Linked DNA regions of Homo sapiens: regions 1, 2 and 4 are each linked to region 3. The links are contacts of gene promoters, found by promoter capture Hi-C in blood cells and fetal thymus (Javierre and others, 2016). All regions are on one chromosome and are shown on one strand. Each heading gives the region's core, a stretch centred on a gene start or on the middle of the fragment in contact. The rest is flanking DNA. Distances are from core to core; before and after follow the strand shown. Region 1 has its middle 2.9 kb from the start of LINC03139. Region 2 has its middle 19 kb from the start of LINC03139. Region 3 holds the start of DDIT4 (DNA damage inducible transcript 4). Region 4 overlaps PSAP (prosaposin).

Evidence for each region. The method cuts DNA at HindIII sites, captures the fragments that hold promoters and counts their contacts. A CHiCAGO score of 5 or more calls a contact.
Region 1: a fragment that was not itself captured here is called in contact with the fragment with the promoter of DDIT4 in region 3 in 1 of 17 cell types (fetal thymus); the score reaches 6.7 in fetal thymus.
Region 2: a contact is called between a fragment that was not itself captured here and the fragment with the promoter of DDIT4 in region 3, in 5 of 17 cell types (fetal thymus, total B cells, naive CD4 T cells and 2 more). The highest score is 9.0, in fetal thymus.
Region 4: a contact is called between a fragment that was not itself captured here and the fragment with the promoter of DDIT4 in region 3, in 1 of 17 cell types (total B cells). The highest score is 5.0, in total B cells.

What each region holds. Positions count from the first base shown.
Region 1 is chr10:71,879,312-71,882,619 of GRCh38, forward strand. No RefSeq gene overlaps it. Among named protein-coding and RNA genes, the nearest start is that of LINC03139, 2.9 kb to the left of the region's middle. The HindIII fragment of the contact is 6,930 bases long and covers 1-3,308 here.
Region 2 is chr10:71,895,892-71,899,005 of GRCh38, forward strand. No RefSeq gene overlaps it. Among named protein-coding and RNA genes, the nearest start is that of LINC03139, 19 kb to the left of the region's middle. The HindIII fragment of the contact is 1,602 bases long and covers 716-2,317 here.
Region 3 is chr10:72,272,044-72,275,308 of GRCh38, forward strand. It overlaps DDIT4 (DNA damage inducible transcript 4), which reads left to right and starts at 1,881. Exons shown (of 3, transcript NM_019058.4): 1 at 1,881-2,017; 2 at 2,114-2,378; 3 at 2,652-3,265. The coding sequence starts at 2,174. The coding sequence ends at 3,145. DDIT4-AS1 (DDIT4 antisense RNA 1) reads right to left here and starts at 1,668. Exons shown (of 2, transcript NR_186445.1): 1 at 807-1,668; 2 at 1-474. RefSeq lists enhancers at 378-901, 902-1,425, 2,136-2,255. The HindIII fragment of the contact is 3,971 bases long and covers 1,449-3,265 here.
Region 4 is chr10:71,837,585-71,840,977 of GRCh38, forward strand. All of the region lies in intron 1 of PSAP (prosaposin), which reads right to left. Among named protein-coding and RNA genes, the nearest start is that of PSAP, 12 kb to the right of the region's middle. RefSeq lists an enhancer at 602-1,370. The HindIII fragment of the contact is 2,953 bases long and covers 434-3,386 here.

The sequences.
Region 1 (3,308 bases), core at 732-3,231, 390 kb before region 3:
GGGTCTCACTCTGTCATGCAGTCTGGAGTGCAGTGGCACGATCATAGCTAACTGCAGCCTCAACATCCTGGGCTCAAGAGATCCTCCTGCCTCAGCCTCTCAAGTAGCTGGGACTACAGGCACAGCACCACACCTGGCTATTTTTGTTCTTTCCTTTTTCTTTTCTTCTCTTTTTTTTTTTTTTTTGAGATGGAGTCTCACTCTGTCCTCCAGCCTGGAGTGCAGTGGCGCGATCTTGGCTCACTGCAAGCTCCACCTCCCAAGTTCATGCCATTCTCCTGCCTCAGCCTCCCGAGTAGCTGGGACTACAGGTGCCCACCACCATGCCCGGCTAATTTTTTGTATTTTTAGCAGAGACAGGGTTTCACTGTGTTAGCCAGGATGGTCTCAATCTCCTGACCTCGTGATCTGCTCACTTTGGCCTCCCAAAGTGCTGGGATTACAGGTGTGAGCCACCGTGCCCAGCCCTTTTTTTTCTTTTTTTATTACTGGCTTAGGTTTGAGCAGTGATCATTTTAAGTTTTTTTTGTAGAGATGGGGTCTCACTGTGTTACCCAGGCTGGTCTCAAATTCCTGGCCTCAAGCAATCCTCCTGCCTCAGCCTCCCAAAGTGTGGGGATTACAAGTGTGGGCCACCATGCCTGGTCTTCCTGTTTTTCAAATAAAATTACTTTTTATTTATTTATTTATTTATTTATTTTTAAAGATGGACTCTCGGCCAGGCAAGGTGGCTCACACCTATAATCCCAGCACTTTGGGAGGCCGAGGCAGGTGCATCACCTCAGGTCAGGAGTTTGAGACCAGCCTCACCAACATGGTGAAACCCCATCTCTACTAAAAATATAAAAATTAGCCAGGCGTGGTGGCGGGCACCTGTAATCCCAGCTACTTGGGAGGCTGAGGCAGGAGAATCGCTTGAACCTGGGAGGAGGAGGTTGCAGTGAGCTGAGATTGCACCACTGCACTCCAGCCTGGGCAACAACAGTGAAACCCTGTCTCAAAAAAAGAAAAAAGAAAGAAAAAAAAAAAAAACAAAAAACAGAGATAGAGTCTCTTTTGGCTCTCTAATGCCCATGGGATCAATGCCAAATTCATCTCCCTGGCAGTCAATGCTCTATTCTCCTTCTCCCCTCCACCTCTCCACCTCTCCAGCATGCTCCCACAACATTCTGCCCCAGTGACCTCAACCTGCAATGCCCACCTGTCCCATGGACCTCCCTGCCCATGCCTCTACTCCAGCCAATACTGGCTCATGTGTACACACCATGCTGTGTACCGTCTGTGCTTTGCTCATGCCGCTTGCCTCACCCGAGTGCCTCTCCTCCCCTCGGCTCGTCTGGTGCCTGTTTACTCTGCAAGGCCAGCGCATGCCCCCTGCATCCTGGAGGTCTCCTCTCATCATCCCAGCCCCACCGGGCTCCTGCAGCATTTCTGAGGTCTGTATCTTTCAGAGAGCTACGCTGCACATTGCCTGCTGCTCCCAGCAATCCTTACACCTTTCACCCCTCTCCCCATGTGTTTACTGGGCACCTAGGGCATGCTGAACACTGTTTGGGATAAAACAGATCCAAGGCTTAATGAGACAGATACCATCTCTGCCCTCCAGAGGTTACAGTCTGCGGTCAGGGGTGGGGGGGGGACCTACAAGAGAAGGGGCAGAGACCACAGGGCATGTGGTCAGATTTAAAGGGAGGGGCTGCCTCGGAAGCCACCCAGTCCAGAATTGGGCAGCCGTAGAAGGCTTCTGGGAGCAGGCGGATCTGAGCTGAGACCCAAGCATAGGCAAGAGTCAGCCTGGCAGAGGGGTGGGGCACAGAGCTCATCTTCCAGGCAGAGTCCTGGGTGCACATGTGTCTGGCAGAAGGAGGGCTGAGCTGGGCATGAGGTGGAAGTGAGCCGGGCCATGCAGAGCTCAGCAGGCCTGAAGGGGAAGCCATGACTGTCTCACAATGCCTCCCTCAGCATGTGATGCTAAGGGGCAGAAGCTGGCTCCCAGGCACATCTCAAGGGCACCAAGCCAGGCACCCCACAGAAGGCCTTCAGGAACCCTAGTTAAATAGGTGACTAAGCAAATTATTTCATGAATAAATGTAACAATGAACTGATACATTTGAAGGAAACCAGAGTATTCCACCCCTAAAATATGCCTCCTTGACATTTTTTTGTTTTGTTTTGTTCTGTTTTGTTTTTTTGAGACAGTCTTGCTCTGTCACCCAGGCTGGAGTGCAATGGCACGATCCTGGCTCACTGCAACCTCTGCCTCCCAGGTTCAAGCAATTCTCCTGCCTCAGCCTTCCGAGTAGCTGGGATTACAGGTGTGAGTCCAATTCTGTATTTTTAGTAGAGACAGGGTTTCACCATATTGGTCAGTCTGGTCTCAAACTCCTGACCTCAGGTGATCCACCCGCCTTGGCCTCCCGAGTAGCTGGGATTACAGGCATGAGCCACTGTGCCCGGCCTTTGTGTGTGTGTGTGTGACAGGGTCCTGATATGTCACCTAGGGTGGAGTGCAGTGGCATAATCTAGGCTCACTGCAGCTTTGACCTCTGGGGCTCAATCGATCCTGCCCCCAAGTGGCTGGGACTACAGGTTTGAGCCACCATGCCCAGCTAACTGTAAATTTTTTTGTAGAGACGAAGGTCTTGCTATGTTGCCCAGGCTGGTCTCAAACTCCAGGCCTCAAGTGATTCCCCCGCCTCAGCCTCCCAAAATGCTAGGATTACAGGTGTGAGCCACTGTGCCCAGCCTTCAAAAGATATTTTTGAACTGAGGTTTCTCCCACATGATGGGCATAGCACGTGTTAAAAATAAAATTGCTTCTTTTTCTTGTCAATCTATCTTTTGTTTGAGGAGAATGCCTCAATCACGAACTTGTGAGGGATGAACAAAGATGATGTCTTTTCTCTCCTTCCCATGCATGTGGGAATGGGTGAATCCAGGGTTTCTAGTGCTGTTTCCCTGAGTCTTTTTTTTTGAGATAGAGTCTCACTCTGTCACCCAGGTGCAATCTCGGCTCACTGCAACCTCTGCCTCCTGGGTTCAAACGATTCTCCAGTCTCAGCCCCCTGAGTAGCTGGGATTACAGGCACCCAGTACCATGCCCGGCAATTTTTTTTTTTTTTTTAGACTGGAGTGCAGTGGCACGATCTGAGCTCACTGCAACCTCCGCCTCTGGGTTCAAGCAATTTTCTGCCTCAGCCTCCCAAGCAGCTGGGATTACAGGTGGCTGCCACCATTCCTGGCTAATTTTTGTATTTTTAGTAGAGACGGGGTTTCACCACGTTGGCCAGGCTGGTCTTGAACTCCTG
Region 2 (3,114 bases), core at 267-2,766, 380 kb before region 3:
GCTCCAACAGTCTTTAATTAAGACAGTTGCTTGAGAGATTTGCAAAAGTGTAAAACAATGCTGTTTTTCTCACTAAATTTCTCTTTGTTTTGGAAATGAAGGTATTTTTCGTAAAAATATGTTTATGTTTACATGTAATGAGTTCATTATTACTTTTTGATAAATTAATAAATATCTGGGTCCTCAATAATTCTTTTAAAAATTTTTTTATAATTTAAAATAGAGATGAGGGCTGGGCTCGGTGTCTCGCGCCTGTAATCCCAGCACTTTGGGAGGCCAAGGTGGGCAGATCACTTGAGGTCAGGAGTTCAAGAACAGCCTGGCCAACATGGTGAAACTCTGTCTCTACTAAAAATACAAAAATTAGCCGGGCGTGGTGGCTCATGCCTGTAAACCCAGCTACTCGGAGGCTGAGGCAGGAGAATCGCTTGAAACCAGGGGGCGGAGGTTGCAGTGAGGGGAGATCACCCCCCTGCACTCCAGCCTGGGCGACAGAGCAAGACTCCTTTTCAAAAAAACAAACATGTAGCAATGAAGCCATTAAAATAATTTATTTTTTATTTCTTTTTCTTTTTGTATGAATCGACTTTGGATAAGAAAAAAATCTACTTTTTAAAGAGCTGGGTTTGTGTGGTGGGACACCTATTGGGTGCAACAATGTGGAGAACACTGCCCTCTGGCGGTCACTCCCAGTATAGTACCAGAGAGGTGGGGAAGCTTCCCTTGCTATTCTAGGACTGACCATGAGACGGCAGAAGAATACAGTATTTGCTTCTTTTCTATTTCTATTATACTTGCTTTTCTTTTTCTTTTCTATTTCTATTTGCTTCTTTTCTATTTTCTGTTCCTTCTTTTCTATTTTTTTAAATTTAAGTGTAGCTAAGGGGACTCACTATGTTGCCCAGGCTGATCCCCGACTCCTCGGGTCAAGTGACCCTCTCACCTTGGTCTCTCAAAGTGCTGGAATTATGGGCATGAGCCACCATGCCTGGCCTAAAACCCTGTTCCTAATCTCTAGGTTGGTCCTCAAAGCCTCACACTCAGCCGGGTGCCCAGGGATTGGGGCAGGAGTGACCTCACAGAGCTGCCCACAGTAATGATGCCTGAAGTGCTCCAGCTAGCAGGCTAAGCCTTGTCTTCTCTGCCTCCACAGCAACTCATAGCAGCCCTAGGGAAGGCCACATCCCAGACCCCTAAACCCAGAGAGACAGAACGCAGACCTGGGTGGCAAGGACTCAGTAAGTTATTGAGTGCCAAACCGGGCCACCACTGTGCTTGGCTTTAGGAAAACTTGACATCTATAAAACTTTTAATCTCTAGTAGGTGCTCAAAAAAGCCATTCACTCTTTCATGTAACCAAGAAAAGATGTTTGAGCACCTGCAAAGTGCCAGGCACTGTCCTAGTCACTGAGGACACAGTGAGAAGCAAAAGGGGCCCAGGTCCTGCCCACATGGGACTTATAATTTGGTGAGGGAACAAAAAAAATTTAGTCTCAAAAAACCAAAGTTTGGTTAGATGCTGTGAAAAAGGATGGGGTTCTTTAAGGGCACCTGAGAGAGGGGTCTTGTTTTTCCTGGAAGCCAAAAAGAAGCATAAAGGTTGATACGGTTTGGACGTTTGTCCTCCAAATCTCATGTTGAAATGTGATTCCTGGCTGGGCATGGTGGTTCATGCCTGTAATCCCAGCACTTTGAGAGGCCAAGGCAGGCAGATCACTTGAGGTCAGGAGTTCGAGGCCAGCATGGACAACATGGTGAATCCCCATCTATACTAAAAATACAAAACTTAGCTGGGCATGGTGGCACGTGTCTGTAATCCCAGCTACTCAGGAGGCTGAGGGAGGACAATAGCTTGAGCCTGGGAGACAGAGGTTGCAGTGAGCCGAGATTGTAGTGAGCCGAGATTGTGCCACTGCTCTCCAGCCTGGCTGACAGAGCAAGACTCTGTCTCAAAACAAAACAAACAAACAAAACTACCTCTTAACTTAGTCCCCTCGCATTTTTTTTTTTTTTTTTTTGAAACAGAGTCTCAGTCTGTTACCCAGGCTGGTGTGCATGCAGTGGCACAATCATGGCTCACCTTCCACCACAGACTACAAACATGTGCCACCACATCCGACTAAGTTTTTTTTGTTTTTTTTGTTTTTTGGGGTTTTTTTTTTTTTTTTTGTAGAGATGGGGATCTCACCATGTTGCCCAGTCTGGTCTCAAGCTCCCAAGCTCAAGTGATCCTCTCATTTCGGCCCCCTAATGTATTGTCATTCCAGCCATGAGCCATGGTGCCCAGCATCTCCTGCTTTTTAACTTTGTTTTTAAAAGCTTCTTGATTTTTGTTTCAATTTAATACTGTCTTGGCAACTTTTTAACTTTTTGTTGTTTAGTCTCACTCTCTTGCCCAGGCTGGAATGCAGTGGCCAGATCTCAGCTCACTGCAACCTCCACCTCCCAGGTTCAAGCGATTCTCTTGCCTCAGCCTCCCGAGCAGCTGGGATTACAGGTGCCCACCACCATGCCCAACTAATTTTTGCAATTTTAGTAGAGACGGAGTTTCACCATGTTGGCCAGGCTGGTCTCCAACTCCTGACCTCAGGTGATTCACCCATCTCGGCCTCCCAAGGTGCTGGGATTACAGGCATGAGCCACTGCGCCCAGCCCAATTCTGCTATTAAAGGACTCTGATGCATTCTTCAGTATGCCAATTGCATTTTTCAGCTCCAGAAATTCTGCTCTGGATGTTTTTTAATTATTTCAATCCCTTTGTTAAATGTATCTGATAGAATTCTGAATTCCTTCTCTGTGTTATTTTGAATTTCTTTGAGTTTCCTCAAACAGAATTCTGTCTGAAAGGTCAGAGCTCTGTTTCTCCAGGATTGGTCCCTGGTGTCTAATTTGGTTCATTTGGGGAGGTCATGTTTTCCTGGGTCATGCTGCTAGCAGATGTTCTTCGGTGTCTGGGCATTGAAGAGTTCAGTATTTATTGCAGTCTTCATTGTCTAGCCTTAGTTGTCTTTTTTTTTTTTTTTTTTTTTTTTGAGATCAAGTCTCACTTTGTCACCCAGGCTGGAGTGCAGTGGTGCGATCTCGGCTCACTGCAACCTCTGCCTTCCGGGTTCA
Region 3 (3,265 bases), core at 631-3,130:
TGAGACCCCATCTCAAAAAAAAAAAAAAAAAGAAGAAGAAGAAGAAAAAACATCGTAACTCTTGTTTCCTTAGGGTGTTTAGGTGTCCCGCCCAAATCAGCCTGGAGGAAATGTGAATGTTCCTGATGGATTAATTCAGATCTTCTCTCTGGCCAGCAGGAAGACACACCCATGCAGGTCACCTCTGTAAGAGTGATTTCAAGAGTATGTCATCTACTCCAGCCCTCCAAGAACAACTAGCCGCCTTGATCCAGTGTCTTTTATTATTTTTAATTTTTATATCCCCATTGTTAAGCAATCTGGTGTCTTTAAGGCTCCAACAAGCGACAGAGCTTGAAGAATGGGAAGAGAAGGCCTTGAAAGTCCCAGTGGCTCACAAACTATTCCATTCTGCAGCTGTCTTTAAGATGTCTCCTGGATCCCCTGATTTCTTTTTTTAATCCATAAATTTGTCTCCATAAGTGGGTCTCCCACCTGTCAAATGAGAGTAGGGTGCAGAGCTTGGATTCTGGTTCTTTCAGGTTCTAAGTCTTGGCCCAAGTGTCAGCTTTTTCTTTTTTCTAAGTTGGGGTGGGGATGGGGGTTGCGGAGGGCAGTGGCCTGACATCTCCTGCAAGTGTCATTTGTCACGCGAAAGCAAGCCTGACCCGAGGCAAGGCCCGCCTATCTGGTTAGGTTCCTTGCCCGCCCCCGGGGCCCTGGGCATCTGATGTAAGTTTGGCTCCCTCTTCCATCAGGGTCCTCCTGTCCCAGACTGATAAACCTTTAGAGCAATAAAGGTCGAGTCCGTCTCAACCTCCACCCACCCTCAGCAACCACTGTTAGCCTCTGAGCACTGCTGCCAGGCCAGATTTCCTGTGGCCCCGCCTGAATGATGAAACACGGGATGGCCATTGCACTCCCTGGCTTTTCCAGAGATCTCGGTCCTCGGTCCTGATGCAACCGTCTGGATCTTTTACACAAAGCGCTAGGCGAGCGCTGGGTGCTAGGACCCGGGGGGCGCCCGGGCAGGGAGGTCCGGCTGCGCTGCCTGCAGTCCGCGGGGAGGGCGGATGGGTCTGTGAGTCCGACTGCTGTGAATCCTCGCTTCCATCCCTGCACTGGGCGCTATGAACCCGGGCCCATCCACACTCCTCTAACCACTCTCCTCAAGCCCTCTCCTTGGGAGCAGTTGGAAGTGGAAGCAGATAGGGTTTGGGAGGAGGCAGGGATCCCCATTAACCTATGTCCTGGGCTGTAGAGTAACAGCCAGGATGGGCAGGTGGGGCCTTGGGGAAGGGGCAGCATGGTGCCCGGAGCTTCCCAGTCTGTGGACCCCACCCCCATATCCCGAGCCTTTGCAAAGCAGGGATAGAGGGGGTAAGGGCGCGAGGGCAGGCCGGGCTAACGTCTGCTCCTGCGCCGCCGTCCCACGGGCATCCCCCCCGTGTGTGCCCAGTTGTTCCCGAAGCTTTAGGATCCAAGACGCTGGGGGCAACCATTTTCCTTGCCCGCCGCCCCCTCACGCTTCCCTGCCTCTCCTCCTAGCCTGGTCACGGGCTGTCCCCTCCTCCAGCAATGCAACCCTATAATAAACAAGTCTTTCCTTGATCCTCCCCTGCCGCGAGCGCCCTCGGGGACCTTGGCAGCTGCAGCCGCCGCGGATCCTTTCCAGAAAGGGGGCGTGGCGGTGGGTCGGGGTTCGACTGCGAGCTTTCTGGGGCTCAATGGAGGCGGGGCCCGGCCGCTGTCACCGGGCAGGAGAGAACGTTGCTTACGTGCGCCCGGAGTCCATTGGCCAAGGCGGGCCACACTCCCGGGTCTGGATTGGGTCGTGGCGCAGAGAAGGCGTGGCCTCGCCGCGCTAGTCCTTATAGGCTGCTCCGCGCTGGTGCTAGGGCGCAGCAGGCCAAGGGGGAGGTGCGAGCGTGGACCTGGGACGGGTCTGGGCGGCTCTCGGTGGTTGGCACGGGTTCGCACACCCATTCAAGCGGCAGGACGCACTTGTCTTAGCAGTTCTCGCTGACCGCGCTAGCTGGTGAGTGTCCCTTCTGTGTGTGGGTCCTAGAGCTCGCGGTCTGGTCTGGTCTGGTCCCCAGACTGACGCCTGGTCGGTCCCCCTCTTGTCTTACAGCGGCTTCTACGCTCCGGCACTCTGAGTTCATCAGCAAACGCCCTGGCGTCTGTCCTCACCATGCCTAGCCTTTGGGACCGCTTCTCGTCGTCGTCCACCTCCTCTTCGCCCTCGTCCTTGCCCCGAACTCCCACCCCAGATCGGCCGCCGCGCTCAGCCTGGGGGTCGGCGACCCGGGAGGAGGGGTTTGACCGCTCCACGAGCCTGGAGAGCTCGGACTGCGAGTCCCTGGACAGCAGCAACAGTGGCTTCGGGCCGGAGGAAGGTGAGCGGTGGGCGGGTGCCGACGCGACTCGAGGGGCCGGGAAGGTGGGGAAGCCCCGGTGCTGGAAGGGGTCAGAGCCGCCTTGGCTTCCTATCCCATCGGGACCCAGATTGCTTGGGGGCAGGGGGAATTGGAGTATAAGGTGAGTGAGGCGGAAACTGAGGCACGGAGTGGGAAGGAGCGTTGGTTTCTTAAGGAAACAGCACCTCCCCCGCCTGTGCGTTTCGTTTTGAAGCCGCTCTAATACCCCTTCCTGTGTGCTCTCCTTTCCAGACACGGCTTACCTGGATGGGGTGTCGTTGCCCGACTTCGAGCTGCTCAGTGACCCTGAGGATGAACACTTGTGTGCCAACCTGATGCAGCTGCTGCAGGAGAGCCTGGCCCAGGCGCGGCTGGGCTCTCGACGCCCTGCGCGCCTGCTGATGCCTAGCCAGTTGGTAAGCCAGGTGGGCAAAGAACTACTGCGCCTGGCCTACAGCGAGCCGTGCGGCCTGCGGGGGGCGCTGCTGGACGTCTGCGTGGAGCAGGGCAAGAGCTGCCACAGCGTGGGCCAGCTGGCACTCGACCCCAGCCTGGTGCCCACCTTCCAGCTGACCCTCGTGCTGCGCCTGGACTCACGACTCTGGCCCAAGATCCAGGGGCTGTTTAGCTCCGCCAACTCTCCCTTCCTCCCTGGCTTCAGCCAGTCCCTGACGCTGAGCACTGGCTTCCGAGTCATCAAGAAGAAGCTGTACAGCTCGGAACAGCTGCTCATTGAGGAGTGTTGAACTTCAACCTGAGGGGGCCGACAGTGCCCTCCAAGACAGAGACGACTGAACTTTTGGGGTGGAGACTAGAGGCAGGAGCTGAGGGACTGATTCCTGTGGTTGGAAAACTGAGGCAGCCAC
Region 4 (3,393 bases), core at 660-3,159, 430 kb before region 3:
CCACTGACTGCGCAGAGCCCGAGGCCCTCAGGCCAAAGAACAAATGAACAGTCACGATTTTCTTTACCCCAAAGAGCAGGAGGAACAGACATCTAAGTAATGGTGTGTGATCCCACGCATCGGTGGGAATGGGAGCGGCAAGGCAATGCTAACGGAGCCTTCCTCAAAACGAAATTGGAATTGGCACCTGCAAGATGGTGACAGAAAAGGCTGGCTACGTGGAGAGGGAGTGGGGAATTCCAGAACATTCCAAAGGAGTCCAGTTCTCTGTGGGGAAGGGAAGAAACTGTCCTGTCTTTTCAGGAGCGAAGCCAAGGGAAGTAGCGGCAGCCAGGCTGCAAAGGCAGACAGATCTCAGGTGCTTGGGGGAATGGTCTCACCTGCCCCACACACCCTAAGGTGAGGGCTCAACCCCGTGGGCGATACTGCAGGAAGCTTCAGGGATTTCTGGGAGGGACAGGACAGGCAAGCTCATGTGTGGGTCTCAACCACCCAGGCACAAGGTGGCAGAACTGAAGAGGAGGTGGGAGATACCAATGTCAGGCACCTAACTGGAAGGCGAATTCAAAAACGTCCACATGAGAAATGGAAGCAGCAAGAGCCAAGAGAGGCTAACACAGAGTCCAAGAGAACAAGATGGGCAAATGGCACTAACAGGGTTCCATGAGAAGTTGTGCAGACTCAAAGGGAAAACAGAACAGCAAGGGCCAATAGCACCAGGAGAGACACGCCCATGAGCAACGTGAGCTGCTCAGCAGAGGCCAGGGAGGGGAGGGCCTGGGGCCCCACCCAGAGAGTCCCCTGGAGGACTGGGGATGAGTGACGGGAGAAGGAATGTTTCAGAGACACGCGGTCATCTCCAAGGAGGGGGAGAATCCCGTACACCTTCCACCAGGGTGTGGAGCTGGTATGAGTGGCTCCAGACCACAGATCTCTGAACAATGGGTGCAAGGAAGCAGACCACAGCTCCAGGTAAAGAATGCATTTAACATCCACCCAGGGGCATAAAAAGAGAACGGATTAGCTGGACGTGGTGGTGCACGCCTCAGTAGTCCCAGCTACCAAGGAGGCTGAGGTGGGAGGATCGATTGAGCCCAGGAGGCGGAGGTTGCACTCCAGTGCCCCAGCACCACTGCACTCCAGCCTGGGCAATAAAGCCAGAGCCTGTCTCAGAAAAAAAAGAGAGAATGAGTGGCATCATTAGGTGATGACCTCACCAACAGTGGAAGCAAACAAGCAGAAACAAAATGCATAACTTATGAGCAATTCTATATAAGAGGGATCCTTTCAGTGGTGGGCTGAACTAAAAGAGCTCCGAGGAGCTCCAAGTCTTCACTCTAACAAGGCAGATAACATTTTCAGCATTTATAACTAATAAATAAACACTACCCAAAAACACTTTCTCGTGAGTTATTTCTCAAAACATGTGGCCAGCAAAGCCTTTAATCTCTATTCTCATCCTCCCACACCCTACCCCCAAATACCAGCTTCCTTCTCTGAGGCAGTATGCTGAACTCCAAAAAAGTTCTTAGAATGTTTGACCTCCTAAAGATTTCCAATTAAATGTGTCATAAAGACATGAACAGCACTCGGGGCAAATTGAGCACTTCACTTCTTAGTTCAAGGGCCTGGCAAGACAGCTTGGAACAACGGGCTCTTTTTTTTTTCTTTTGAGACAGAGTCTTGCTCTTGTCGCCCAGGCTGGAGTGCAGTGGCACGATCTCGGCTTACTGCAGCCTCCACTTCCCGGGTTCAAGCGATTCTCCTGCCTCAGCCTCCCAACTAGCTGAGATTATAGGCGCCTGCCACCATGCCCAGCTAATTTTTGTATTTTTAGTAGAGACAGGGTTTTGCCGTGTTGGCCAGGCTGGTTTCGAACTCCTGACCTCGTGATCCACCCGCCTCGGCCTCCCAAAGTGCTAGGATTACAAGCGTGAGCCACCATGCTTGGCCCCACAATGGGACTTTTTTAAAGACATAGATTTCAGGGCCATGTGCGGTGGCTCATGCCTGTAACCCCAGTACTTTGGGAAGCTGAGGCAGGAGAATCATTTTGAGCTCACAAATCAAGACCAGCCTGGCAACACGACAAAACCCCATTTCTACAAAAAATACAAAAATTAGCTGGGTGTGGTGGCAGGTGCCTGTAATCCCAGCTACTCAGGAGGCTGAGGCAGGAGAATCGCTTGAACTCAGGAGGCAGAGGTTGTAGTAAGCCGAGATCACGCCACTGCACTCCTGCCTGGGCGACAGAGCGAGACTCCATCAAAAATAAGAAAAACAAATAAGCCATTATTATTCTATGTATTTGTTGTTTACAGTCAAACCTAAGCCCAACTAATATACATACTTAATCAACGACCTCGCTTACAGAAAGGTCTCCCAACAAGTGTTTCCTGGCTTACCCCAGTGAGGATACCGAAAAGCCCAGTACACAACATAATCACCAAAGATTTTCTGAAGCAATCTTAAAATGACAGGACAACATTTCCTAGAATGTGATAAAACAATCAGTCTCATTATTTTAGCCATACAACATATGCTTTTCCTTTTAAATATTTTAGTAACATGCTAAGTACAATTTGAATCTAGCTACCAGAAAAAAAAAAAAGAGGTAACAGAAAATGCATGCAGCCTCCCAGTGCTGACAATCAGAGCCTACATTCCACAGGGCAGCAGATCTGCTGCCTGGGTAAGGCGGCACCATGGCAACAGGCAGGTTGCTAGGAAACCAAGAGAGGATAACCCCTGGAGGAGCGGCTTCTACCGCAGGGCATTTCTCAGAGGAATTCATGCACTTCCATCCCCTAAGAGCAGGAGATAATGCAATGCACTCAACACTAGCTACTCAAACAGCTATTGCCACAAATATCTTCTATGGCAAAGAGCACTTGTCTCTTCCTCATAGATAATCCTGCCTTTGGAAAACAGTCTGCAGAGCAGAATAAAAACACAGCTCACTGAATCATTCAGAATAGTATACGCTCAGAGGTAGTCTCCCTTGATTTGGAGGAGTTAAGGTCCAAGAGTCCTCATATCACATAAGAAATCAGTGGCAATAAAGCTCTTAAGCTCACTAGGCTGACATCCCATCACCTCTGGCCTCAAAGTGTTAAGACAAAGGTCCTTTCTTCCCTGCTTCTCCTCTGCTGCTACAGCCTCGCTTCTTAATTTTCCTTACAAGCCAGATGATTCCAGGGCAGGACATTATCTACACGGAGAAGGCAACAGAGTCCTCAGGGAAATTACCTTGTGCAGTAATGACTGAGGCTGGGGACAAGAATGCAATCTTCTCAGATTGTATGCAATGGAGGCTTAATTAATTTGGGGACAATTCCTAACTAGTTCATTCAAGGGTACTGTAGTCCAATAAAAACTCCTAACAAAGCTTTT